2 separate regions of the Homo sapiens genome follow, and region 2 is linked to region 1. The links are contacts of gene promoters, found by promoter capture Hi-C in blood cells and fetal thymus (Javierre and others, 2016). All regions are on one chromosome and are shown on one strand. The core of a region is centred on a gene start or on the middle of the fragment in contact, and the rest is flanking DNA. Distances in the headings are between cores, read along the strand shown. Region 1 holds the start of XRCC1 (X-ray repair cross complementing 1). Region 2 overlaps LYPD3 (LY6/PLAUR domain containing 3).

Evidence for each region. Contacts are between HindIII fragments. The CHiCAGO score rates a contact against its expected background, and 5 or more counts as called.
Region 2: a fragment that was not itself captured here is called in contact with the fragment with the promoter of XRCC1 in region 1 in 11 of 17 cell types (fetal thymus, naive CD4 T cells, naive CD8 T cells and 8 more); the score reaches 17.3 in fetal thymus.

The regions. Positions count from the first base shown.
Region 1 is chr19:43,572,307-43,578,605 of GRCh38, reverse strand. It overlaps XRCC1 (X-ray repair cross complementing 1), which reads left to right and starts at 3,079. Exons shown (of 17, transcript NM_006297.3): 1 at 3,079-3,198; 2 at 3,604-3,696. The coding sequence starts at 3,148. It overlaps PINLYP (phospholipase A2 inhibitor and LY6/PLAUR domain containing), which reads right to left and starts at 2,805. Exons shown (of 6, transcript NM_001193621.3): 1 at 1,687-2,805; 2 at 1,345-1,491; 3 at 1-16. The coding sequence starts at 1,414. RefSeq lists enhancers at 1,653-2,178, 2,179-2,705, 2,706-2,865 and a silencer at 2,966-3,125. The HindIII fragment of the contact is 21,720 bases long and covers 1-3,405 here.
Region 2 is chr19:43,457,789-43,463,778 of GRCh38, reverse strand. It overlaps LYPD3 (LY6/PLAUR domain containing 3), which reads left to right. Exons shown (of 5, transcript NM_014400.3): 3 at 10-180; 4 at 492-653; 5 at 1,932-2,992. The coding sequence ends at 2,428. Among named protein-coding and RNA genes, the nearest start is that of LYPD3, 4.8 kb to the left of the region's middle. RefSeq lists a silencer at 193-352 and enhancers at 503-552, 583-642. The HindIII fragment of the contact is 1,815 bases long and covers 941-2,755 here.

The sequences.
Region 1 (6,299 bases), core at 1,830-4,329:
CAGTGTAGTGGGCACCCTGCAGTGTAGACAGAGGGCGAGGCTGTAGTCATGGGTGGTGTGGTCTTCGGACCACGACTTTGACTTAGGACTTTTGTGTCCTGAGAGAGGAGGGACCAGCAGCTCCCTGGTTTTTCATGGGCGGGATGTTGACCACTGCCCAAGGAACTGTCCAGAGTTGGACGAAGAAGCAGTGGTGATGCCAGCAAAGCTGCTTCCAGGGGCGGGAAGCGACTCCACCATGAAGCCTGTTTGCCTAATTACATGGCTGGGGATTTTGGATGCCAGGGTCCGCTGAGAAAGCTCAGGGGCAGGGAGGGGTCGTGATGGAGGTTTCCATGGACTTTTGTGAAACTTCAGGTCCAGCTGGTTCTTGAATGTGGGATTCTCCTCCTTGAAGGTGCCATGTAGGTCTTGTAGACAGCAGGAGCTCAGGCAGGGGGCCCTGAGGCTAGGGTCTGCATCCCAGGTCAAGGAGGGAGAGTGAGGACCAGGAGGGCAGAGGACTTGAACTTCTTGGTTCTGAGAGAGGGGACAGCTAGGGGCCCAGAAACCTGGGTCCTGGGGAAAGTGAGGCTTACTTGGACTCCTGTGTGCAGGGGAGGAGGGGGCTGGGGCCTGAACTTCTTAGTCTAAGGAGAAAGGAAATCTCTCTACCTCTTTTAAAAAAATATATCATATGATATTAATGTATTTTTTTTGAGATGGAGTTTTGCTCTGTCACCCAGGCTGGGGAGTGCAGTGGCACGATCTTGGCTCACTGCAACCTTTGCCTCCCAGTTTCAAGCAATCCTCTCACCTCAGCCTCCCAAGTAGCTAGGATTACAGGCGCCCACCACCAAGCTCAGCTAACTTTTTTTGTATTTTTAGTAAAGACGGGGTTTCACCATGTTGGCCAGGCTGGTCTTGAACTCCTGACCTCAAGTGATCCACCTGCCTCGGCCTCTTAAAGTGCTGGGGTTACAGGCATGAGCCACCGCACCTGGCCTTCTCCCTCTTTTTTTTTTTTTAATTATATTTTTAAAGATTTCCCTTTCCAGCCATGCTCTCATCTGATTTCCTAGAATTGAGATGTGTTTGGGATCCTTCCTGGAGGATGGAGGATTCAGAGCCCACCAAGCCCCTCTCTCAGGGATCCAATCACAGGAGCTTTTCTTCTCTGGGACCCCCAGGCTTTCTCTTCCTTTACCCTTGGCCTCTTCCATGAATCTGAATTTCCAGAATGCCTCCCCGTTCACCTTGAGGACTTGCTGAAGGCTCTTTCTCTCTCTATATCTCTCTCTCTCTCAATCTGGGACCTCTCTCTTCCTGAGGTCCCAGAGACAGTTCAGGTCCCTTGTCACTTACCAAGACCCAGGAGGGTGCAGAGCAACACAAAGGCCAGCAGAAAGGTCTCTGGTCTCCTGGAGAGCCTCATGGTGTGTGTATCAGCAGTACCTGGTCCCCAGCTTTTATAGGAAGCTGAGGAGGGGTGGGTCTGGACCCACATTCACCCTACGGGGAGAAATAGCTGAGGTCAGAACCCAGGGCAGTCCTCTGTGGCCTCCGGGTTGGGAAGGCAGAACCAGAATCCAAAAGTGACCTGGGCATCTTGTGCCCAGCCCCCCACCTCCATGGAGACCCCAGGAGTCTGGGCTTCCATCCCCCTCTTCTATTAGAACCCAGAAAGTCACCACCCTGTTTTCTCACCTTCCCACGGCCCATTGTTGTTTGTTTGTTTGCTTGAAGACCAAGACGGAGTTGGGCCTCTTGATTCCCAGTGGCTGCAAGAACTGGGATTCCCTCTCCTTCTCTCTCTTCCCCTCTCCTCCCAAGGAAGCACCCAGTGTGGGTAGGGCCCCACCTTGGAGCACCCAGCATGTCCAGGCTGGTCCTGCGGGTGCGGGGTGCCTTGTCTCCCTTCCCCTCTCTTCATGTGCTCGGCTCACACTCCTTGTGTGTTTGGGCTGTCTCCAGCTGCGACCCCACCCAGGGCTGCACCCTTGGGTCTCCAAGGCACCGAATGAACAGAGGGATGTCTGTCGGCAGTCATAGGCGGGCGTAGTAAAAGACAGATGCCCACAGTCCACATATTGGGAAACTGAGGCTTTTGTGGAAGAACTCCAGGATAGGGGTGTGTGTGTGTGTGTGTGGTGGGGGTTGGGCACATGCTTTGTGTTATATTTAGGACGCAGAACCCTTCTCTTTTGGCCTCAGGCATAAGGCTGAAAGAGATCTGCTAATTTTTTTCGCGCGTGCGCGCGCGCGTATGTATGTATATGTGCGTGTGTGTGTGTGTGGCAAGGGGACAGAGAGAAGAGTGCAGCCGCCTGAGCCATTTGAAGAGATCCTGTTGCGTAGAATCCAGGTTCCCTACGAAACTACGAAAATTCACTCAGATTTGCTGTCCTAGCCCAGCGCAGTCGCTCACGCCTGTAGTTCCAGCACTTTGAGAGGCCGAGGCAGGTGGATCGCTTGAGCTGAGGAGTTCGAGACCAGTCTGGGCAACATGGCAAGACCCGCCGCCCTCTCACCCCATGTCTCCACAAAAAATACAAAAATTAGCCGAATGTGGTGGCGCGTGCGTGTAATCCCAGCTACTTAGGAGGCTGAAGTGGGAGGATCCCTTGGCCCCAGGAGACAGGGGTTGCAGAAAGCCGAGATCGTGCCACTGCACTCCATCCTGGGTGAGAGAGCAAGACCCTGTCTCAACAAAAAATTTTTAAAAAATAAAATAAATAATAATACAGCAAAAAGATTTGCTTTCTCGGCTTCAGTGTGGGCGGTAACTCCATCGTGCAATGAGAAAGGCGAATTTCTTCCAGACACCAATCCCGGAGGTCGCTTCTGTTGCTAGGCTCCCAGAAAGCAGGGTTCGGACGTCATTGGGAGGCGAGGCTAGAGCGGGGTTGTGTGTGGCGGAGGGAGGCGGGGCTGGAGGAAACGCTCGTTGCTAAGGAACGCAGCGCTCTTCCCGCTCTGGAGAGGCGCGACTGGGCTTGCGCAGTGTCGACGCCGGCGCCGGCGCGCCGGGGTTTGAAAGGCCCGAGCCTCGCGCGCTTGCGCACTTTAGCCAGCGCAGGGCGCACCCCGCCCCCTCCCACTCTCCCTGCCCCTCGGACCCCATACTCTACCTCATCCTTCTGGCCAGGCGAAGCCCACGACGTTGACATGCCGGAGATCCGCCTCCGCCATGTCGTGTCCTGCAGCAGCCAGGACTCGGTGAGGGACCTGCATGGGGGAGGTTGGAAGACGTGAGGGAATTAATGAGGATAGCTCTTAAAAGAGCTTTTGGGGTTCTCTTGGAAGTCTAAGGAGAGTCATGGGGGGATTTCCAGGAGGCTAAAAGTGAATTGTGGAGAGATGTTGAATTAGGGACGTTCCGGCGTCTAGGGAACTTCCGGAGAGAAAAGGAGGAATAGGGAAGCTTTCTTGGAGAGCCCATAGGTGAACTTCCACGGGAAAGTGTTGTAGGGGAAACTCCAGGCAGAGTGTCGGGGGATTAACGGGAGAGCTTAAATCTGGGGGTCGTAGAGGCCTTGGGAGGACTCAAAGGAATCATCTGAGAGCTGGAGGCCTAGCTGTCATCTCTGTGCCCTAATTCTCCTCTCCCACTGTTGTTTCCAGACTCACTGTGCAGAAAATCTTCTCAAGGCAGACACTTACCGAAAATGGCGGGCAGCCAAGGCAGGCGAGAAGACCATCTCTGTGGTCCTACAGGTGATCCTGCCACCCCACCTCCTCCTCACTAGGAGTCTGGAGTCCGGGGTTCCAGATTCTGCTCCTGAGCCAACTGGCAGTGGGTTTAGTCACTTTCTTTGCTGGGCCTCAGCTTCCTTACTCGGAAAATGGGCAGCATAATCCCTGTGCCCCTCAGCAGAGAGGAAAGGAGACCCAAGGATTAAGTCCAGGATGACCACAGGAATCAGTGTGTGGTCCTGGGCAGGTGGCATCTACTTTCTGGGTTCCAGTTTCCTCAGCTGGAACAAAATGAATCATTGCCACGTACTCTGCCTCCTGCAGCCAGTGGGCTCAGGGCTGGAAGGTGTCCAGGAAGGTCGTCTAAGCCAATCAACTCCACTTTAAAGAAGGGGAAACTGGCCGGATGCCGTGGCTCATGCCTGTAAACCCAGCACTTTCAGAGCCTGAGATGGGAGGATTGCTTGAGCTCAGGAGTTCCAGACCAGCCTGGGCAACATATCAAGACCCTGTCTCTATTTTTATTAAAATAAATAATTTTTTTTAAAGAATAATAGCCAGGTATGGTGGTTCACACCTGTAATCCCATCACTTTGGGAGGCCGAAGCTGGAGTATTGCATGAGCCCAGGAGTTTGAGACCAGCCTGGGCAATACAGTAAGATGTCATCTCTACCAAAATTTTATAGATTAGCTGAGTATGGTGGTGTGCACCTGCAATCCCAGCTACTGGCGAGTCTGAGGTGAGAGAATTGCTTGAGCCCAGGAGATGGAGGCTGCAGTGAGCTGAGATTGTGCCACTGCACTCCAGCCTGGGCACCAGAGTGAGACCCCCAAAATATAAAAAATAAAATAATAATAATGAGAGCTGGCATTATTCAACGTTACCTGTCAGTCGCTGCTCTACACACCTCACTCACATGGATTAGCTCATTGAGTCCTCATAAAAAACCCCAAGAGGCAGGCTCTGTTATCCCCACTTTTACAGATGAGGAAACTGAGGCCCAAAGAAGTTATACAATTTGCCTGACAGTCAATCTTTTATTTATCTGTTGAGACAGAGTCTCACTCTGTTCCCAGGCTGTAGTGCAGTGGCATGATCTTGGCTTGGCTCACTGCAGCCTCTACCTCCTGGGCTCAAGCGATCCTCCCACCTCAGCCTCCTGAGTAGCTGGGACTGCAGGTGTGCACCACCATGCCTGGCTAGTTTTTTTTGTATTTTTTTAGAGATGGGGTTTCCACCATGTTGCCAGGCTGGTCTCAAACTCCTGGGCTCAAGCGTTCCTCCTGCTTCAGCCTCCCAAAGTGCTCGGATGACAGGCATGAACCATTGTTCCTGGCCTGGGGGCTGCTTTATGACTATAAGGAGCAGAACACTCTGTGGATAGTGCTAGGGTGACGGAAAAATTAACCTTTTGTGAATGGGCAGTCATTCAGCAAATATCCACTCCTCTCCCTCCCACTGGAGGGGGAGTATATTTCCCTGCTCCATTGATGAGTTTGACCATATGATTTACTTAATGGAATTTCAGCACATCTAACTTCAGCAAGGGCCTTAAATGCACTTGGCTTTTGTGCTCCCATAATATGCCATGAGAACATTTGCCAGGTTACTGCTAATCCCAGAAAACTGTGGAATCTCATGGAAGAGACCTGAATCCTCCCAAACTGCAGCCAAAGCAGCCATCCCACAAATTCTTATAAGAATGCTTGTTGGTATAAGTCTCAGTTTTCATGTTGGGAGGTCGAGGTGGGTGAATCGCTTGAACCCAGGAGTTTGAGACCAGCCTGGGTAACATGGGGAAACCCTATCTCTACGAAAAATTATAAAAAATAGCTGGGCTTGGTGGCGTATGCCTGTAGTCCCAGCTACCAGGGAGGCTGAGCGGGGAGGATTGATTGAGCCCATAAGGTTGAAGCTGCAGTGAACTGTGATGGTTTCACTGCACTCCGGCCTGTGAGACAGAGTGAGACTGTATCTCAAAAAAAAAAAAAAAAAAAAAAAGAAAAGATCTCAGTTTTAGGATGATTTGTTACACAGCATTATTACAGTGTAAGTTAATACAACTTGGTTGTTTTAAACCACTGAGATTAGGGACTCCTTTGTTACTGTAACATCATCTGGTCCACCCCAATTGATGTCAGTGTTTAGTGCCTGTCAACTAATGGCCTCCACTTCCCAGGTTCAAATGATTCTCATGCCTCAGCCTTCTGAGTAGTTGGAATTTACATGCCTGGCTAATTTTTGTATTTATAATAGAGACCGAGTTTTGCCATGTTGGCTAGGCTGGTCTTGAACTCCTGACCTCAGGAGTTCAAGGCAAATGAGCACCAAATGCTAATTTAAGTGATCCACCCACCTTGGCCTCCCAAAATGTTGGGATTACAGGCATGAGCCACTGCACCTGACCTCAGTCTTTTAAACTGTGATAGATACAGATTGCTGACAGTTTTAGTCTTGAGATCTAGATTCAAGCCCCCAGCTCTTCCTCTTAATCGGTGACCTCAAGAAAATTGTTTCATTTCTCTAACCTGTTTTCTCATGTGTCCATTGGGAATAATGACATCCAAGCCCGGAGTTGTGAAAATTCGGTGACATAATGTCTGCACAAGTGCTCTGTCAACA
Region 2 (5,990 bases), core at 599-3,098, 110 kb after region 1:
TCTCCCTAGTCCACGGACAATTCTCGCTGGCAGTGCGGGGTTGCGGTTCGGGACTCCCCGGCAAGAATGACCGCGGCCTGGATCTTCACGGGCTTCTGGCGTTCATCCAGCTGCAGCAATGCGCTCAGGATCGCTGCAACGCCAAGCTCAACCTCACCTCGCGGGCGCTCGACCCGGCAGGTCCGTGGGGGCCGGGCCGTAGCTGCGGGGGCGGAGCCACATTCGGGCCTGCCAAGATAGAGGTGGAGCCGTGGCAGAGGCGGGAGTACTCGACCTGGGCTGGGGGTGGGGTCACACTCTGGGGCGGGGCCAAGAGGCAGCAGGAGGGACTTTCTGGCTGTAGGCGCCGCGAGGTTGCGCGCTGGGGCGGGGCTACTAGTAGGCGGGGTCATCGATAGTGCCGGGGCCAGGCCTTAGGGGCGGGGCTAGAGGACGAGCTGCGGTTCCCGAACCCTTTCGACACCTTTTCTTCCTCTCGGCTCCCCTCGCAGGTAATGAGAGTGCATACCCGCCCAACGGCGTGGAGTGCTACAGCTGTGTGGGCCTGAGCCGGGAGGCGTGCCAGGGTACATCGCCGCCGGTCGTGAGCTGCTACAACGCCAGCGATCATGTCTACAAGGGCTGCTTCGACGGCAACGTCACCTTGACGGCAGGTGAGGGAGCCCCGGAGCACGGGACCTACGGGAGTTGTGGTAGCCCTTCTGAAGCACCCTGGGCGGTAGGGAGCCCTTTACCCAAAGCGTTTCCTTAACCTGCGACGCATTCTGGGAATCGTGGGGCCTAGGTGCTTGTATCGTAGGGCATCATGGAAAATGCAGTCCCTTCCCCCAACATATTAATAGTGTGGGGATAGTGATGCTTTGTCCCAGAGTGTTTTGGAGGGAAATGCATTTCCATAGAGGGCTGCCAGGTACTTAAGAGGTATTTAAGCCTCTAAGCTTCTGCCCAGGCACTGCGGGGAATCTCTAGTTCTTAGCCCTTAAAACTCAAGGGGTCCCCCGCCTGTCCCAGACTATTGAGAAATGTAACCATGGAAAATGAAGTTCTTCAAATCCCATCCCCTGCCAGTTATGCTATGGAAGATGTAGTTCTTTTTTATTTTATTATTACTATTTTTTTTTAAAGACAGCATCTTGCTCTATCGCCTAGCCTGGAGTGTAGTGGCGCAATCATAGCTCACTGCAGCCTCTACCTCTTGGGCTCAAGCAGTCCTCCCGCCTCAGCCTCCCAAGTAGCTGGGACTACAGGGTGCACCGCCACGACTGGTTCCTTTTATTTTTGGTAACAGTGGGGTCTTGCCATGTTACCCAGGCTGGTATTGAACTCTTGGGCTAAGAGATCCCCCTGCCTAGGTCTCCCAGAGTGCTGGGATTACAGCCGTGAACCACTGAGCCTGGTGTGGAGATGTAACTCTGACTCTAAGAGTAAATTCTGATGGGGAGGTAAAAGCCAGGGTGAAGGCTAAGGGGATAATGGTGAGAGGGTTGTAGAGGAAGTTTGTTCTGCACTGTGGTCTTGTGAGAGGTCTTGTATCTCAGTCTAAGCCTTTGTTTTAAACCCTACTTTTGGTTCAGCCTACACACATTTCCATTCAAAGCACAATGGAAAATGTTAATCCACCATGTGCCAAAGACAGTGAGTCTGTCTGTTTCTCATAGTAGGACCTGAGTTGAGATTTTGGGATTAATGGATGCAGAGACTTTCTGTCTCATTTTGGGGGTTCTCTGTTCTTTTTTTTTTTTGCAAGACAGAGTCTCACTCTGTTGCCCAGTGATCCACCTGCCTCGGCTTCCCAAAGTGCTGGGATTACAGGCGTGAGCCACCACGCCCGGTCAGGTTCTCTGTTCTTGTCTGATGCCTCTAAGTTTTGTTCTGGCCATGTCAACCTCTCTCCCTCCAGCCACTGACCTATCTGTGTCTCCTTCCTGCAGCTAATGTGACTGTGTCCTTGCCTGTCCGGGGCTGTGTCCAGGATGAATTCTGCACTCGGGATGGAGTAACAGGCCCAGGGTTCACGCTCAGTGGCTCCTGTTGCCAGGGGTCCCGCTGTAACTCTGACCTCCGCAACAAGACCTACTTCTCCCCTCGAATCCCACCCCTTGTCCGGCTGCCCCCTCCAGAGCCCACGACTGTGGCCTCAACCACATCTGTCACCACTTCTACCTCGGCCCCAGTGAGACCCACATCCACCACCAAACCCATGCCAGCGCCAACCAGTCAGACTCCGAGACAGGGAGTAGAACACGAGGCCTCCCGGGATGAGGAGCCCAGGTTGACTGGAGGCGCCGCTGGCCACCAGGACCGCAGCAATTCAGGGCAGTATCCTGCAAAAGGGGGGCCCCAGCAGCCCCATAATAAAGGCTGTGTGGCTCCCACAGCTGGATTGGCAGCCCTTCTGTTGGCCGTGGCTGCTGGTGTCCTACTGTGAGCTTCTCCACCTGGAAATTTCCCTCTCACCTACTTCTCTGGCCCTGGGTACCCCTCTTCTCATCACTTCCTGTTCCCACCACTGGACTGGGCTGGCCCAGCCCCTGTTTTTCCAACATTCCCCAGTATCCCCAGCTTCTGCTGCGCTGGTTTGCGGCTTTGGGAAATAAAATACCGTTGTATATATTCTGCCAGGGGTGTTCTAGCTTTTTGAGGACAGCTCCTGTATCCTTCTCATCCTTGTCTCTCCGCTTGTCCTCTTGTGATGTTAGGACAGAGTGAGAGAAGTCAGCTGTCACGGGGAAGGTGAGAGAGAGGATGCTAAGCTTCCTACTCACTTTCTCCTAGCCAGCCTGGACTTTGGAGCGTGGGGTGGGTGGGACAATGGCTCCCCACTCTAAGCACTGCCTCCCCTACTCCCCGCATCTTTGGGGAATCGGTTCCCCATATGTCTTCCTTACTAGACTGTGAGCTCCTCGAGGGCAGGGACCGTGCCTTATGTCTGTGTGTGATCAGTTTCTGGCACATAAATGCCTCAATAAAGATTTAATTACTTTGTATAGTGCTTTAAAGGAGTCACTTCCACCTTGTTTCTCGCAATAACCGCTCTAGCTGAGCTAGGGTGGGCATCATAAAGCCTTTAACGGGAGAGATATGGGACCTAGAGCCGCAGTCCTGGGGGAAGTCACGGTTGAACTTTAATCTCCTGGGTCTATCCTGCATGTGGGTGGTCCCACTGGTGAGGGGGAGACCGGGCGAAACCATTAAGCAGCATGGAGGGGCGAATGGGGCTTTTAGCAATGCCAGGGAATAGAGAGCTTTGTCTAATGAGTTTATGTACCCTCCCTAGGCTCCACCCGCCTTGTCATCCAGCCAGCCGTCTGCATTGTTTTAGAGACGGGGTCTCTGTTCACCCAAACTGGACTGCAGTGGCCCAATCATAGCTCACTGCAACCTCTAACTCCTGCCTCAGGCTCCCAAGTAGCTGGGACTACAGGCTTATCCCATCATACTTGGCTAATTTTATTTTTTGTAGAGATGAGGTCTTGCTATGATGCCCAGTCCTCCTGCCTTGGACTCCCAAAGTGTTGGGATTACAGGCAGGAGCCACTGCACCCGGCTTCATCTGGTTTACTAAGAGTCATTAAGCCTGGGTGCAGTGGCTCATGCCTGTAATGCCAGCACTTTGGGAGGCAGAGGCAGCTGGATCACCTGAGGTCTGGAGTCCGAGACCAGCCTGACCAACATGGAGAAACCCTGTCTCTACTAAAAATACAAAATTAGCTGGGCATGGTGGCACATGCCTGTAATCCCAGCTACTCGGGAGGCTGAGGCGGGAGAATCGCTTGAACCCAAGAGGTGGAGGTTGCGGTGAGCCGAGATCACGCCACTGCACTCCAGCGTGGGCAAAGAGTGAAACTCCGTCTCAAAAAAAAAAGTCATTAACTGGGCTTACCTACTGTGTCCCACTTGTCTGTAGGACCCGGGGGTGCTGCTGTTGGTCTTTGCTTGATGTTGGGGACCTGGGGCTTGAGCCCCACCTCCATCTCCTTCCAATCAGATGAAGGCCTGGCCCTAGAGGCACTGGAGGGGAAAAGCCTGGTTTGGGAATGAGAGAGTTCCTGGTAGGCTTTGCGACTGCTTGATGGGAGGAGGATCAGATGTGGGGAATAGTGAGATCATAACAGTATATTGCCAATATTGCTATTGATAGCCAATATTACTATTGATAATGGGGAGTAGTGTGAGGTAACAACAAAACAATAGCAAATAAGGAGAATAGCAACAAAATAGAACATCAATAAGAGTATGAGCTCTTATTCTGAAACACATATATTGCAATACATGTATAGAGGGAAACATCAGTGATGGTAAATGTAGTGTTGGGAGTATTAATGATTTTTCTTTTTTTTTTTTTTTGAAATGGAGTTTTGCTCTTGTTACCCAGGCTGGAGTGCAATGGCACAATCTCAGCTCGCCACAACCTCCCCTCCCAGGTTCAAGCGATTCTCCTGCCTCAGCCTCCCGAGTAGCTGGGATTACAGGCATGTGCCACCATGCTTGGCTAATTTTATATTTTTAGTAGAGATGGGGTTTCTCCATGTTGGTCAGGCTGGTCTCAAACTCCTGACCTCAGGTGATCCACCCACCTTGGCCTCCCAAAGTGCTGGGATTACAGGCGTGAGTCACCATGCCCGGCAGAGATTTTTAAATTTTAATTTAACTTTTATTTGTATTGTAGAGATTGGCGTCTCACTATGTTACCCAGGCTGGTCTCGAACTCCTGGGCTCAGATGATCCTCCTGCCTCTGTCTCTCAAGTGCTGGGATTACAGATGTGAGGCACCGTGCCCAGCTGTGTTAGTGATTAAAGACAGTCTTACTAGATGCCAAGTCTATGCTATCAGTTTACAGCCATCATCTCATTGACTTTTCCACATATTTTCAGATGGGATGATTGGGGAAACTGAGGCTCAGAATGATGAAGTAATTACCCACAGCAAATAATACATTGATTATGTGCCAGGTACTGTATTAAGTGCTGTACTTGGATTAATATATTTAATCTACAAAACCATCCTATGAAGTAAGTGTTAATCACCTGCATTTTACAAGATGGGGAAATCAGGGCTAGAGAGGTTAAGAAACTTGCCCCACGTCACTCAGCTATTAAGCAGTGGAGCTCGGATTTGAACACGGGCAGGTCAGCTTTACAGAGTGTACCAACACTGCCATAATGTTTCCCTCAGCTTGACTAAACTTTAGACAGGCTTCCTCCTGCCTCTAGGCCCTCAGAATCCAGAGGGTCTAACCACAGAGGCCCCTTACCTCCCTTTTCTTAGAGCATTTACTTGAGAAAACTTGTCATTGTAAATTATTTCTTTGTCCATTTGAGATGGATATAAACCTCTTTAAAAGTCTTGGCCGGGCGCGGTGGCTCACGCCCGTAATCCCAGTACTTTGGGAGGCCAAGGCGGGTGGATCACGAGGTCAGGAGTTCAAGACCAGCCTGACCAACATGTTGAAACCCCGTCTCTACTAAAAATACAGAAATTAGCCAGGTGTGGTGGCAAGTGCCTGTAATCCCAGCTACTCAGGAGGCTGAGGCATGAGAATCGCTTCAACCTGGGAGGCGGAGGTTGCAGCGAGCCAAGATCACGCCATTGCACTTCAGCCTGGGGGCGACAAAATGACACTCTGTCACAAAAAAAAAAAGAAAAAAAAAGTATCTTGCCAGTTGATAGCCCAGGAAATGGAGTCTCACTATGTTGCCCAGGCTGATCTTGAACTGGGGTCAAGCTATCTTCCTGCCTTGGCTTCTCAAAATGCTGGGATTACAGGGATGAGTGACCAGGACCCAGGAAACTATCTTTTTGAAATTGTAAACATAAAAGGAAATAGCACTCCTATCTCCCCCCAGGAAGGTGAGAGCCTAACTTTGGTACATGACTCAGCTCTCAGTTGTAAAATACCTCCTGTCATGAAGACAGAAGAAAGTTGCCTTCTCTTCTGGGTAAAGCCGATTAAAAATGCAAATGACCTACAATCGCCATTCACCCCAGC